Regions from separate parts of the Homo sapiens genome. Here regions 1 and 2 are each linked to region 3. Evidence: promoter capture Hi-C in 16 types of primary human blood cells and fetal thymus (Javierre and others, 2016). All regions are on one chromosome and are shown on one strand. Each heading gives the region's core, a stretch centred on a gene start or on the middle of the fragment in contact. The rest is flanking DNA. Distances are from core to core; before and after follow the strand shown. Region 1 overlaps UBE4B (ubiquitination factor E4B). Region 2 has its middle 2.7 kb from the start of SPSB1. Region 3 holds the start of TMEM201 (transmembrane protein 201).

Evidence for each region. The method cuts DNA at HindIII sites, captures the fragments that hold promoters and counts their contacts. A CHiCAGO score of 5 or more calls a contact.
Region 1: a fragment that was not itself captured here is called in contact with the fragment with the promoter of TMEM201 in region 3 in 2 of 17 cell types (naive CD4 T cells and total B cells); the score reaches 5.9 in naive CD4 T cells.
Region 2: a contact is called between a fragment that was not itself captured here and the fragment with the promoter of TMEM201 in region 3, in 3 of 17 cell types (fetal thymus, endothelial precursors and M0 macrophages). The highest score is 7.1, in fetal thymus.

What each region holds. Positions count from the first base shown.
Region 1 is chr1:10,033,932-10,036,774 of GRCh38, forward strand. The region is part of intron 1 of UBE4B (ubiquitination factor E4B); the gene reads left to right. Among named protein-coding and RNA genes, the nearest start is that of UBE4B, 2.4 kb to the left of the region's middle. The HindIII fragment of the contact is 2,564 bases long and covers 214-2,777 here.
Region 2 is chr1:9,288,839-9,291,605 of GRCh38, forward strand. No RefSeq gene overlaps it. Among named protein-coding and RNA genes, the nearest start is that of SPSB1, 2.7 kb to the right of the region's middle. The HindIII fragment of the contact is 1,021 bases long and covers 756-1,776 here.
Region 3 is chr1:9,587,353-9,590,358 of GRCh38, forward strand. It overlaps TMEM201 (transmembrane protein 201), which reads left to right and starts at 1,559. Exons shown (of 11, transcript NM_001130924.3): 1 at 1,559-1,691. The coding sequence starts at 1,579. RefSeq lists silencers at 1,155-1,564, 1,575-1,774, 1,935-2,004. The HindIII fragment of the contact is 1,704 bases long and covers 679-2,382 here.

The DNA of each region.
Region 1 (2,843 bases), core at 246-2,745, 450 kb after region 3:
TGAACAAGAGGAGAGAGCATCTTGAGGTGTTTATTCTTTTCTTCAGGGTATGCGAACAAGAAGGGCGAGATTTACATGAAGTTAAAGTGTGTGTGTGTCTGTGTCTTCAGGAATTTAAAGAACAATTTTGGATGGAATGAGAATGTATGGTGGGTGAATATTTTTAAAGAAAGCATTTGAAATTCCAGATATGTGTGGTTATTGCACTGTATAAGCTTGATTAAACATATATTTTTGCTTGAGGGGTGGTTTACAGACAGATTCTTTGATATTTAACAAAATATGTATCTTCTCCACAGTTTAGAGAATTCCAGTTATATTCTGGTACTTAATAGACCACTAATGACTTCTGGCATTCTTCTGTTACATTCTATCTTTTCCTACTTCTTGAATCTTTCAAACTTGTGTTTTGCTGTAGCAGAGACTGAACGGGAAGCAAGTGGAAGCAAATGACTTTCTAAACTCTCTCCTGTTCTCATTTCTTAAAGGAGTTATACAGATCTACTTCTTGATGTTTTAAAGATTGTTTAATAAATTAGGTTGTTGTAAAAAAAAAAACAACCAAAAAGCAGTGGCAATTAGGGTACAAGGAATTTCCTATGATTCTACTGCCTTTTCTCTTCCTTTTTGCAAATTAGGAGCTTCCCTTTCAGGACCCCTACTGGCCATACCCTCTTTAGCCTACCTCCACATTTCTTCACTGGTTCATCATGTAAACTTCCCTACAGTATTAGGAAAGCAGTCATCCATCAAGTTGATTGTACTACAAGACTTCCATGCTCCAGTTTTAGCTACAGAGTACTTAGTGTGTTTACTTAGGGACTGAAATTCTCCTGGGATAGGACACGCAGTGGTGTGTTAAGGGTCAGGTAGGAAAGGAAGCAAATGATTTTGTTGATTGTGATACTTGGATACTTGGTTTGGAAAATCAGGACTGCCCATTCGGCGTTACTTTGTTTTTTTCGAATACAGCAGAAATGTAATCTTAAGTGAAGAGAATATTACACAGTTTCTTTCATTCGGTAGGAAATCTCCTTAGAATCGCTTTATTTTATGTGGGTTTTTTTTTGTTTGTTTGTTTTTTTGAGACGGAGTCTTGCTCTGTCGCCCAGGCTGCAGTGCAGTGGCGCGATCTCGTCTCACTGCAAGCTCCGCCTCCCGGGTTCACACCATTCTCCTGCCTCAGCCCCCTGAGTAGCTGGGACTACAGGCGCCCGCTACCACGCCCGGCTATTTTTTGTATTTTTAGTAGAGATGGGGTTTCACCATGTTGGCCAGGATGGTCTCCATCTCTTGACCTCGTGATGCACCCGCCTCAGCCTCCCAAAGTGCTGGGATTACAGGCGTGAGCCACCGCGCCTGGCCTGTTTTATGTGGTTTTTTAAAAGTTTCTCTACCTCCCCCGTTTTTCATTAATGTTAATTCTAGTGAGTAATTTCTCTTAAGGCAGAGATACTGTTTTTTTTTTTTTTTTTTTTTTTTTGAGGCGGAGTCTCGCTCTGTCGCCCAGGCTGGAGTGCAGTGGCGCTATCTCAGCTCACTGCAAGCTCTGCCTCCCGGGTTCACGCCATTCTCCTGCCTCAGACTCCGGAGTAGCTGGGACTACAAGCGCCCGCCACCACTCCCGGCTAGTTTTTTGTATTTTTTTGTGTTTTTAGTAGAGACGGGGTTTCACTGTGTTAGCCAGGATGGTCTCGATTTCCTGACCTTGTGATCTGCCCGCCTCGGCCTCCCAAAGTGCTGGGATTACAGGCGTGAGCCACCGTGACCGGCCAGAGATAGTTTTTTTATTTTTTTTTATTTTTTATTTATTTTATTTTATTTTTTTTGAGACGGAGCCTCGCTCTGTTGCCCAGGCTAGAGTGCAGTGGCGCGATCTCAGCTCACTGCAAAGCTCCGCTTCCCGGGTTCACGCCATTCTCCTGCCTCAGCCTCCCGAGTAGCTGGGACTACAGGCGCCCGCCACCACGCCCGGCTAATTTTTTGTGTTTTTAGTAGAGACGGGGTTTCACCGTGTTAGCCCAGGATGGTCTCAATCTCCTGACCTCGTGATCCGCCCGCCTCGGCCTTCCAAAGTGCTGGGATTACAGGTGTGAGCCACCGCGCCCGGCCGAGGTAGTTTTTTAGTAGTCCTTTACTCCTATAAATTACTTTTTTTTTTTTTTTTTGATGATCTGTTAATAGTCCTTGGTTTAGAGGCTTTTGCATACTTGAGTTTTCACCAAAAAATTCTTTTCAAACCAGTGAGGCATTACAGACCAGTGAAGATATTGTATAATCTAAAATGTGTCTCTTCACTTTCATCAGTCCTTGAGGAAGGTGTAACTTTTTTTTGTGACCATATGAGGAACACATGTAACCTTTGTGGAAGAAATAGAATAAACTTTTTTCAAGGTCAACAGAATATTAAAATAAATGAAAAAAATTAAATTCACTAATACAGGATCAATGTAAAATTATCTTCAACAAATTAGTTGTCCAGAACACAAAGGGCTGGTTCAATAACTGTTAATTTTACTCTCAGCAGAACCTAGAACAAATAATATTCGTTTGTTTTTAATTTAAAAAATCTTTTTTTTTTTTGTAGAGACGGGGGTCTTGCCATGTTTCCCAGGATGGTCTCAAACTCCTGACCTCAAGCGATCCTCCCACTTCAGCCTCCCAAAGTGGGAGCCAGACAAATAGTTATTTTGGGAAAAATATCTTTGAAGTTTTTCTTTTTAATTCAATTAAAAATTTTTGAGGTTAGGTAAGCAGTTCTCATGAGACATTTCCAAAGCTTTTGCCTTTGTATTGTTACTCTGTAGTTGAAAACTTGTGTCAGATATGGTAGGTGACATTGA
Region 2 (2,767 bases), core at 16-2,515, 300 kb before region 3:
ATACTATTAAAATTAATTAATTATATTATAATGTATATTCAAGATGTCCCATGGATAGAAATAAACTGAAATACTGTTAAAAGCAACTGGTGAAGATTTAAGATAGGCACCAATATCACAGTCTGCTGTTACTTCACTGTGTTTTTGAAGAACTTTGCAATAGTTATTGTCCCAAACCCAATATCATCTCTTTATTATTTTTTTCTCAAAGTCATAGGAACTCTTTCCAAGCCTGTTTATCATCTAATGTCTCATTTAAATCTCCCCAAAACTTTGCTCTTAGTCTTTTCCTTTATTCGTGATTAACAAAGTCTGATAGAGCTATAGTGCAATATCATGCTTTGCCAGCAGGCGTCGCTGTCTGACAAGATGTGATCCAGTGTGAGCACTACAGTAATTTATGACCAAATGATCTACAAAATGAATCAATGTACTAAATTAGGGAATATTATGAGATCAAAATTCTGCGAGAAGTCAGCTGTGATGGCTCATGCCTATAATCCCAGTACTTCGGGAGGCCACGGCAAGAAGATCACTTGAGCCCAGAAGTTCAAGACCAGCCTGGGCAACATGGTAAGACCCTGCCTCTATTTTTTTTTTTTAATTAACATATAAACACTCTACTTCTGTTTTGCATCATGAGATAAGTACACATCTTATGCTAAGGATGCATAATAGATGTAGATTTTATTAATATGCTTCAGTGTTCTTCATGTTCTGGTGGATCTTGCTACAATTCTGTGTTGTGGATACCAAGCTTTTCTTTAAAAAAAAAACCTATTATCTTGAAAATTCTCAAAATCCTTGATTTCATTCTAGCACAATTAATTGTGTTCAGTTAATGTTGGTTGAATGATTGCACCACCTCCCCAGTTTCTGGGGAAATGTGTAGAGCAGTTCTACAGATGAGAACAGGAAATCTCAGAAAGGTTAAGTAACTTGCTCAAGGTCACACAGCTGATGAATAGCAGAGCTGGGGGTTGCATTGGGTTTGTCTATTACCAAATCCTTTGCACATTTGCTCCAATCAGCAAAAGGGATTCAGAGAAGATGGCAGCCTTTAACACTTGTGAGGGCAGCAGGATTCTGTGCTAAGAGCTCAAGGCTCAGAACCATCATCAGAAAAAGCAGCTGATGCTAATTCACCATCTATCAAGTTTCTCTTCACCATTTCCCGGAGACAGATTAAAGACATGAGCAAATTGTGCTGATGCAAGTGATAAAATGTGTGTGGGGGTGGGGTGGAGTTGGGGAGGGGGTTGGGGATGACACCACTGGGAGCCCAGAGCCACCTCCCTCCCGACTCACCCCTGCAGTACACAGATCTTTGTATAAGTCCTGAGTCACCCTTCAAATTTTTGGATAGTATCTATCAGCTTATGTCACAATGTTGCAAGATTATGTATCTTTTTTTAACAAACAATAGTATCAGCATGCTAGGGTGATTCTGAGCCCTTCTGACACATAAACTGGCTTCCAGGATTGCTCAACATTGCCCCATGCTGCAGCAGTCACTGCCGGCTGACCAGCCTTCCATCATCCGGCCAACCTGCCCAGCGTCCTGGAGGAGAGAAGGCCCACTCCCCAGGGGTTCTTCTGGGAAATTTAGGTCAGCAGGGTCTAATTATTCAACTGGATCAAGAGCTGAGATTTCCAGATTAACGCCGAAGGGGGGTGGGGTGGGGGTGCTGAAGACTTTTCATCAGGAACTGTCTTTCAGGGCCTTAAACATCAAAGCTGGGTCTCTAGCTCCAAAGTGCCCCAGTCTGCCCTGGAAGCTTCCCAGATGTTAAGAGGTGAGGCTTGGTGGAGTTCCTCTTAGCAAAGCTGACAACACCATGGCCCCAGGCCACGTGGCCGTAGCACCAGCCCCATGAGATGCCAGTGTCTGGTAGATGCCACACACACAGTGAATAATCCACCAAACAGGGCTACTCTCCCAAGGAGAAATGAACCCATCAGAGGCAGCTGTGATTTTCAGCAATGACTGACGTGGGCTGCACCCCATGGGCCTGTCCCAGAGGCTCTCACCAGTCTCCCAAGTAAACAACAGTTCTCAAACTGCAGAGTGGCTGGAGGGGGTCATATGCTCTTTTAAAATTATTATTACCTTTTTTTTCTTTTTTTTTGAGATGGAGTCTCGCTCTGTTGCCCAGGCTGGAGTGCAGTGGTGCGATGTCGGCTCACTGCAACCTCTGCCTCCTGGGTTCAAGAGATTCTCCTGCCTCAGCCTCCCGAGTAGCTGGGATCGCAGGCACGTACCACCACACCCAGCTAATTTTTGCATTTTCAGTAGAGATGGAGTGTTGCCATGTTGGCCAGGCTGGTCCTGAACTTCTTTTTTTTTTTTTTTTTTTTTTTTTGTGAGACGGAGTCTCGCTCTGTCACCTGGGCTGGAGTGCAGTGGCGCAATCTCGGCTCACTGCAATCTCTGCCTCCCGGGTTCACACCATTCTCCTGCCTCAGCCTCCCAAGTAGCTGGGACTTACAGATGCCCGCCACCACGCCTGGCTAATTTTTTATATTTGTAGTAGTGACGGGTTTCATCGTGTTAGCCAGGATGGTCTCCATCTCCTGACCTCGTGATCCGCCCGCCTCGACCTCCCAAAGTGCTGGGATTACAGGTGTGAGCCACCAAGCCCAGCCTGGTCCTGAACTTCTGACCTCAGGTGATCCACCTGCCTCAGCCTCCCAAAGCGCTGGGATTACAGGTGTGAGCCATCATGCCCGGCCAATTATTATTATTATTATTTAATTTTTGTGCAGA
Region 3 (3,006 bases), core at 309-2,808:
TTTGTATTTTTAGTGGAGACCAGGTTTCACCATGTTGGTCAGGATGGTCTCCAGCTCCTGACCTTGTGATCCGCCTGCCTCGGCCTCCCAAAATGCTGGAATTACAGGCGTGAGCCACCATGTGCCCGGCCTGCATGTTGCTTTTTTGTTGTCGTTTTTGTTTTTTCAGAAGGAGTCTCCTGTCACCAGGCTGGAATGCAGCGGCACAATCTTGACTCGTTGCAACCTCCGCCTCCCAGGTTCAAGCGATTCTTGTGCCTCAGCTTCCCGAGTAGCTGGGATTACAGGTGTGCACCACCACGCCCGGCTAATTTTTGTATTTTCAGTAGAGATGGGGTTTCACCATGTTGCCCAGGCTGGTCTTGAACTTCTGACCTCAGGTGATCCGCCCGCCTCGGCCTCCCAAAGTGCTGGAATTACAGGTGTGAGCCACCGCGCCCTGCCTGCATGTTGCTTTTTAAAAACAATGTATCATCCATCTATGCCAATAACTCCAGATCTGGCTTTCTTTTCTTTTCTTCCTTTCTTTCTTTCCTTCTTTCCTTCCTTCTTTCCTTTCTTCCTTCCTTCCTTCTTTCTCTCTCTCTCTCTTTCCTTGCCTTTCCTTTCTTTTTTGAGAAGGAGTCTCGCTTTTGTCGCCCAGGCTGGAGTGCAGTGGCGCGATCTCGGCTCACTGCAAGCTTCGCCTCCCGGGTTCACGCCATTCTCCTGCCTCAGCCTCCCGAGTAGCTGGGACTACAGGCGCCCGCCACCACGCCCGGCTAATTTTTTGTATTTTTAGTAGAGAGGGGGTTTCACCGTGTTAGCCAGGATGGTCTCGATCTCCTGACCTCGTGATCCGCCCGCCTCGGCCTCTCAAAGTGCTGGGATTACAGGCGTGAGCCACCGCGCCCTGCCTGGATCTGGCATTCTTTCTAATGGTTGCATTATGTTCCGAACTATGGCTGTCCTATGATTTATTCAACCATGTCCCTATCCGTGGATGATCGTGTTTCTAAAAAGCTAGTTTTTCAACCATTAGAGCGGCTCAAGGAGCTGCTAAACAGCACTGGGCGCATAGGCTGGGTTTGACTAGACAGGATTAGCGAGGGGGAAAAAGACTAATTACAAGCAGTTGCGTACTCTGGAGATGCTCCCCTTAGCAGAAGCTCGGTGGACTGTCTGCAGCCAGACCTCCGGGCCTGGCGGCTGGCGCGGGAGGCAGAAGGCGGGGCTTTCCTACAGGGCTCCGTGCCCCGCCCTCCCCGCGCCGCCTTCCACCTCCGGCCGCGCGGGGGCGCTCCCCGGCCGGCTCTGTCGCTTCCGCCGCCGCCCCGCCCACCCGGGCTCACCCCTCGTCCCGATTGGCTGCGCGACGGGAGCGCGCCGAGTCAGGGGGCGGGCCCGCGCCCGCTACAAAGCGGCGAAGGTCACGGCGCGAGGAGGCGCGCGTCGCCGCCCCGCGTCCCGCCTGCGGCCCGCGCCCCCGGCGTCACCGCCTCCTGCCCGCCTGCCCGCCTGCCCGCCTGCCCGCCTACCCGCCTACCCGCCTACCCGCCTACCCCCCTGCCGGCCTGCCGTCCTTCCACGCGGAGAGCCATGGAGGGAGTGAGCGCGCTGCTGGCCCGCTGCCCCACGGCCGGCCTGGCCGGCGGCCTGGGGGTCACGGCGTGCGCCGCGGCCGGCGTGTTGCTCTACCGGATCGCGCGGAGGTGAGTGCATGGTTCGGCCCCACGCGGCCCTCTGCGCCGCCCGCCAGGCCCGCCCCCGCGCCGCCCCGGCCCGCTGCCCCCCTCGGCCGGGACCCGGGCTGCCCGCGGGCGCGCGGAGACCCCCGGCGCGCGCCGCCGCCCCCCGAGACCGGGTTGAGACTGCAGTCGGGAAGCGGCTGCGGAGTCGAGTGGAGCGGCGGGGACTCCGGGAACGTGGGGCGCGGGCGAGAGCGCCGCGCGGGGGCCACAAACTTCCTCCGGGAGCCGCGGGGGGCTGGAGCCGGTGCGCACGGGCCGCCCCTGCCCTCAGCCCCGTGCTGGGCCCCGGTGCACGGCGATGCTGGCGATCGCGGCTGGCGGTTGCTGCTCGGCATGTGACGTCCCGGGCGTTTTTCTACACGCCTCGCATCCGCGCGTTTCAGAGCCACAGCCCCTGCTTACGCTAGAGCAGCTGAGGGACAGGGAGGCTCAGTAACTTGCTGTTAATGAGAGGAATCATGGTTTGAGCCGATGGAATCTGCAGGGCAGACCCCGAGGCTGGGCTGCCTCCCAGAGGTGGGCAAGGCCTGAGATGCCTCCAAACAGTTCAAGACGGGCCGGGGCCACCCTCCTCCCTGCCCGGCTCACGGGCCATGCGGGCCCCCGGGTTCAGATCCGGCCTCTTTCATCGGCCTCCATCGCCAGGCATAAAAGCTTAGTGGCCTGTTGCTTCAGCAGAGCCTCGCAGGTAGCTTACTGTTTCTCCACTTGATCCACCTTTCCAGAGGGCAGGGGGGAAAGTGGGGTTGTGAGAACATCCTAGAAAGAGTGGATGGGTTTGCAGCTTCGGCAAGGGATGCAATGAGCTCACACCCTTAGGAAAAAGGGGAGAAGGGACTTGCCCACTCAGCAGCAAGTGGCAGAGCTGGGGTTTGAACCCTGATCGTCTGGCTGGTCTGTTTGTTCTTCCTTAACACATACCGGTGCTGCTTCTCTCCTCCAGGGGGGAAACGGGGAAAAAGAAGTACAGGTGGTTGAGTCACAGAGGCTTCCCAGAGGAGGAAGGCATGGGAGGGACATCAGCTGTGTCTGGAGGATGGGCCAGATGTGACTGAGGAGGGTAGCTGGGGATTGAGTGACCCCAGCCCAGAGGTCCCTGACAACCCAAGTCTCTCCATGTCGGTTTCTGCTGGATTCCTGGAAGTTGAGCATCTGCAGGACCAGCTTGTCCAAGCCGGTGGTTTTATACCCAGGGGACCGAGGTCCAGAGACCTCAGGTGATTTGCTCACATTCCCAGAGCATGTTGCCAGCTGAGCTGGTCCAGCACCCGGTGTT